Linked DNA regions of Homo sapiens: region 2 is linked to region 1. The links are contacts of gene promoters, found by promoter capture Hi-C in blood cells and fetal thymus (Javierre and others, 2016). All regions are on one chromosome and are shown on one strand. The core of a region is centred on a gene start or on the middle of the fragment in contact, and the rest is flanking DNA. Distances in the headings are between cores, read along the strand shown. Region 1 holds the start of SMAD2 (SMAD family member 2). Region 2 has its middle 7.9 kb from the start of DYM.

What was found. Contacts are between HindIII fragments. The CHiCAGO score rates a contact against its expected background, and 5 or more counts as called.
Region 2: a fragment that was not itself captured here is called in contact with the fragment with the promoter of SMAD2 in region 1 in 1 of 17 cell types (neutrophils); the score reaches 6.4 in neutrophils.

The regions. Positions count from the first base shown.
Region 1 is chr18:47,929,335-47,932,228 of GRCh38, forward strand. SMAD2 (SMAD family member 2) reads right to left here and starts at 1,325. Exons shown (of 11, transcript NM_005901.6): 1 at 1,027-1,325. LOC124904297 (a long non-coding RNA gene) reads right to left here. Exons shown (of 2, transcript XR_007066360.1): 2 at 2,854-2,894. RefSeq lists silencers at 754-1,283, 1,314-2,243. The HindIII fragment of the contact is 8,478 bases long and covers 1-2,894 here.
Region 2 is chr18:49,467,070-49,469,944 of GRCh38, forward strand. It overlaps the pseudogene PRR13P4. Among named protein-coding and RNA genes, the nearest start is that of DYM, 7.9 kb to the left of the region's middle. The HindIII fragment of the contact is 6,859 bases long and covers 1-2,875 here.

The sequences.
Region 1 (2,894 bases), core at 75-2,574:
TCATTCATACGAAACTATCAGGTTCAATTCATATGAAGTCAGAAGAGAGAAAAAGAATTTTGGAAATTAAATCACATTTCAAAGACCATTTCTAAAAAGATGTAATTATTCCAAGTTATTTATTTATTAACAATTATTTTACACATGTCGTTTTAAAAGTTTCACAAACCCAAATTTAAGATAGTCCAAATTGCAACAAACAAGACATGACTTTGATGGAAAATGCTGCTTGCAAATTCGTTTTACCTGGAAATTTCTTTTTTAAAGGTATGGTTGACAACACACTGGTGGTATTTTGCTTTTAAAGGGTCAAGAGAAAGGAATAACAAAACCAACCCAGGCATTCTTTTTCTGTTTAGGATCAAAAGGACATTTTAAGGATAAGTAAAAGACAAAAGTACCTGACCCAAAGACAATATCCCCCTCCAAGAGAACAAAGTAAGTTGCAATTTTAAAAACCAAGTTTGAAATACGAGAAATCACTTCGAGGGCTTTCCAAAGGCGTGTGATAAAAACTAATAGGCTCCACCCGCAGAACAACTTTCACAAGTGAGTGAAGGATGATCACAGAGTTATCAGCTGTGTGCGTGTTTGTGAGTACACACAAGCCATGGAAAACCCGAGACTACCACTGTTAACAAAGGTTACGAGACCAAAAAAAAAAAGTGGAGGCAAAGTATTACGCGTCCCTAACAAGGCTTCCCCACAACTCCTGAAACAAGAGCTCTGGCCCTTCGGCTTTAAAAATCAGAACCACAAACTATGGAGTGTGAGAGCAGCGAGGGGAAGGGACGCAGGCAGCCCCCGCCCCCGTCAGCCTGGGCGGCAGCGCAGTGCAACCGAGCCCCGTCCCTTCCCGGCTCTCCGGCCCCGAACCCGCACGCCCGGGCCGGCGCACCCACAGCCCCCGAACTCACCACACCCCAGCCCCCACCCGCAGCGGCCATGTGACACGGCCCATCGCCCCGGCCGCGGACGCACGCAAACACTTCCCTAGCTGGAGGCCCGCGGGCGCCCAGGCTTTACCTGCAAGGTGGCGCCAGGTCCCGCCCCGTCAGATCCGGGGGGTCCGGGACCTTTTGTTCCTTCCTCTTCCGATGGGATGGAGGGGGCTGGGAGGGGAAGAGGGGAATGGGCGATTGGAGGCGGAACTGAAAACACTCCCGGCCGCCGTCTTCCCGCCCCGCCCCCAGGCCCGGGCCCGGCCGGCGGCCCGGGCGCGCGGGAGGGTAGGGGAAGAGAGGGGAGGGGAGGGGAGGAGAGGGAAGGGGAGGGGAGGGAGCCTGGCCGCCGCCCGCGGGGAAGGAGGGGGTGAGGACGCGCGCGCCCGCGCTGCCCCTCCTCCCCTCAGGCGCGCGCCCGCAGCCCTACCGGCCGCCCGCACGGCCGCGCCCTCCCCCGCCAGCCCACCTCCGCTTCCGCCCTCCGCCCTCGGCCGCCGGCCGCCGCGGCGCCACGCACCCACCTCCCGGCGGCTGGCGGGCTGCTGGCTGGCGAGCTGCTTCTCCGCCGCCGCGGCCGCGCGGGTAGACCCGCCTGCCACCCTGGGCCGCGGGCCCCGCCGATTCGCCGGCGCAGCCCCGGGGCTGGCACCCTGCCGCCCGCTGATTGGCGCCTCCAGCCGCCCGTTAGGGCGCGAGGCACGCCGGCCGAAAGCCGCGCGGGGCGGGTATGGAAGACGGAGGGAGCGGAGGAGGAAAGGAACGAGGCCGAGCACCGCGGGAAGGGCCGGGGGGCGAGCGGGGCGCGGGGAGTCGCCGGCCACCGCCTCCCCACCTCCCTTTGCCTACGGCCCGCCCCGCCTCCCGGCCGGACCGGCGGCGCCCGCAGCCAATCAGCACGAGGGAAGCTCGGGGTGTGAGCCGCGCATCGGGGGCCTCGAATCGGAAGGGAGACGTCGCTCGCTGATTGGTCCCGCCTCCCCAGTCTAGCGTGAGGCGAGGCGGGGCGCGGCCGGGCGGGGCGGGACGCCCGCGGTTTCGCTTGAGTTGGGCGCCGGCGCGCTCCCACCGGGGCTCACGGGCGGAGAGGGAGAGGCCCGCGCCTTGCCGCGCATTAAGACGATTCCCGGTGACCGCCCGATCCCTCGCCAGCGTCGTGGGTGGGGCCTGTAGGGGCCTGCCGCCTCGTCCACCGTCCGTCGTGAGGCCGGCAGCGGACACGTGCTCATCCCACGGGGAGGCCCCGCGCAGCGCGGAGGACGCGCCTGAGAGAGAAAAGGGGTTCGGGAGAAGCCCGAGGACCCGGCCCGTGACTGGGCGCGCCCTATGCAAATGAGCGGGCGGGGCCCTCGTGTTGCTGAACGAGGGCGGGTTCGCGATGTAAATAAGCCCAGAGGTGGGGTCTTTGGAGAGCACTTAGGGCCCGGGTAGGGGATGCCAGGTATAAGTGTTTAACCTAAATTTTGGTTCCGTCTTCAGTAAAAATGATATCAATAATCCATGTCCCGAAGGGTCTTTGTGAAGTCTAAAAGAAACATCTGTCACGATGTCCCTTAATGGCTGGGATATCTTCCCTTCCCCTTTTCTCCACTGTTGCGACGATTAGGCCCCAACTTGCACATCTGCCCTACAGGAGGCAGCAAGGCCCTAAACTTACGGCTGCCCAGAACATAACTGCACCCAGGGAAAACCTTGTTGCGGTTACCCTTAGGAACACCCAAGCCTCTGCTGACAAAATATTGAGCCCAACTAATCACATCAGGTGTTTACTATGCACCCACTGTGACACAGGCAGGGAGTACCGTAGAACTAAAGTTGAAAAGAAACTTAGGTTTCACACAGGTGCCAGAGACAAGACTAGAACACAGTTTTTTTTTGGCTGCCTGTCCAGTAATTCATTCTCATGTGTGGCTTAGTTTATAGATTTAATTGGGGACTTCAAATAAGCGGGAA
Region 2 (2,875 bases), core at 293-2,792, 1.5 Mb after region 1:
TCAAAAGGACTAAGACAAGGTACTTATTTATTGTCCCCCATTGTACAGCCGCAACAAGTTAAATACAATTCCCAACATTGCAAAGCTAGCCAGTGGAGGCTCACACACCAGCAGTCTAGCTGCACAGCCCACACTGTCACTCACTGGAAAAGGCTGTCCCAGAGCTCCTTTTGCCAACACTGCCAGTGTTGGAAGACTCACACTTGGCTTCCTCAGAGTTAGCTTGTGTTTCCAGCTAACATGGACTGTAATATCTGACTGTAATACCTGGGTATATTGGTTTACTAGGGTGCCATACCAAAGTACCACAAACAGTGGACATTTATTGTCTCATAGGCCTGGAGGCCAAAAGTCCAAAATCAAGGCATTGTCAGAGTTGGTTCCTTCTGAGGGCTGCGAGGAAGAAACTGTTTCATGCTCTCCCCTACTTTCTGCTGGTCTACTGACAATTCTTGGCATTCCTTGGCTTGTAGAAGGAACACCCTTATATCCACCTTCATCTTCACATGTTCCTCTGTGTGTGTGTTTACATAGAAATTTCCTCTTTATATAAGGACGCCAGTCATATTGGGTTAGGGCCCACCCTGGTGACTTCATTATAACCTAATTCTATCTACAATGTACCTATTTCCAAATAAAGCCTGTTAAATAAAATTTATAGGCGGCCATTGGCTTGGACTGAGCTCCTGCACTAGGCCCAACCAAAATGGAGTCATTCATGCTAAGGTTCCATGTCACCAAATTGAAACTAATTTGTTTATCTGACCATCTGAGAAATGAAGAGAGTGAGGGATAATAGCCAAATCCCCAAAGAAGCCAGTTTTAGCCGGCATGATAAGGAAATCCCCTCTGCTTCAGCCTTAACAAGAAAGTAACTCTGAAACAACCAATCCACTTTTTGTTTTCTGTTTCCGCTTTCCTTAGCCTTTTTCTCTCCATTGGACCAAACTCCTCTGCTCAGCTCTTGGGAACACCCGTTTTATTTTATAGGATGAGGTGTTGCTTGATTCTAGAATTGTAAATAAAAGCAGTTAAGATATTTAAATTTGTTGTAATTTTGTTTTGTTTTTTTTTTCTCGCTCTGTTGCCCAAGCTGGAGTGCAGTGGTGCGATCTGGGCTTACTGCAACCTCCACCTCCCAGGTTCAATCAGTTCTCATGCCTCAGCCTCCTGAGTAGCTGGGATTACAGGCATGAGCTACCACACCCAATCCTAATTTTGTCTTTTGAAAGATCAAATTCTGAGGTACTGGGGGTTAGGACTTGAACAAATGAATTTTGGAGGGACACAATTCAACCCATAACATGAGGTGCAAACACTACTCTAGGCAAGATTTGAAGAAATAGAACTGACCTCGGTGGCCAAGAACAGATTTATTGGTGTCTTTGAACCCAAATAGGTAAAAATTATTTCCATTTACACTAGGTCATATCTTATAGTCTCCCAGAAGCCAGTGGCACGAGCCTGGAAGATTTACAACTCAGGCCAGGCATGTTGGCTCACACCTATAATCCCAGGACTTTGGGAGGCCAGGGTGGGGGGATCACTTGAGCCCAGGAGTTCAAGACCAGCCTGGGCAACACAGCAAGATCCCGTCTCTAAAAACAAACAAACAAATAAAAACACAATACTTGTGACCTACTCTGCACTGCCCATGGTTTTGCAGAGGATGGGGGTCAGGATGTCTAGAGGAAAGAGTATTGAACGGCAATGACTCAAACTTCCAAGCCCTCTTCTAGGTCACCATGTGACTTAGCTGTTTGACAAGATCACTGAAATTGCCCTTTCAAGAGCTACTAAAGTGTCAGGGGAAGAGATTCGAGTAATTTGTTGATTTAGCATTATGGTAATTTCTTATTGTACTGTGTTTTTTTCTGTTTAGTTCCAAAACGTTTAGCAACTGTACCCTCCAAGGCACTGTGGGAGGTGGCAAGATAAAGACAGCACTGTCTACAAGGAGCTCACCATCCTGTGAAAGACACAGCAGGTAGCCAGCTACCTGTAGGGCAAGGTCACCCGGATAAGAAGTGTTGTACAGAGCTTGCAGAAACAAGGGCAAGAGAAGGGGAGGAAGGGAAGGCTTCCTAGAGGTGTGGTACTTCAATGGGGCCAACTCATCACAGGTTATTTTGCCTCCTACAGGTGGCAATGAACCCCCAATAACACATAGCCCTCTTCTGTTAAAGACCACCAGAATACACAACTTCTTAAAAAAGAAAAGCTAAATGAGAGATTCACCAAGGATAGAGGCTTTTCCTTTCACATAATCATCAGAATGGAGCAGAGGAGGGTAAGGAAGACCTTTTACTTTTTGCAATATACAGATATTTCTGAATTATCATTTTTTGAGAGAACATTTAGTGTTCATTCCATAAATATTTAAGTATCGACTCTGAACCAGGCACTGCTATAGGTGCTGGGGATTCAGCCTGTACTATTATTATAATAAAAATTATAATAGAAACACTGAGAATAGATGACAAATGATTAGGCTTTGAAACAGATTGCTTGAGTGTGCATGACTGTCATTGATATTGATTTATTTTCCTTCAGATTGTTTAAAGTCTATCTTGAACGTCAACAATTAAAAAAAAGGCACCATTAAAAAATATCCAAATGAGGGGTCAGGAAGGATTTTTATACTATCTGTATTTTAAAAAATCTTCTACAGAGAACACATCAAGCCCAGGCAGTGGTGGAAAGGTGATGGGGTTGAAGGACACACCTAAACATGTGGAATCCCAATGCCAGGCAGCCAGGGCCAAATCCATATCCCCCCAACATCGGGTACCCTGGAGGTTCCAATCCTGCCCACCCACCACCTGTCAATCTACCCTTTCCCCCAGGCCCCTTTCCTCCTCCCTCAGGAGCTCCC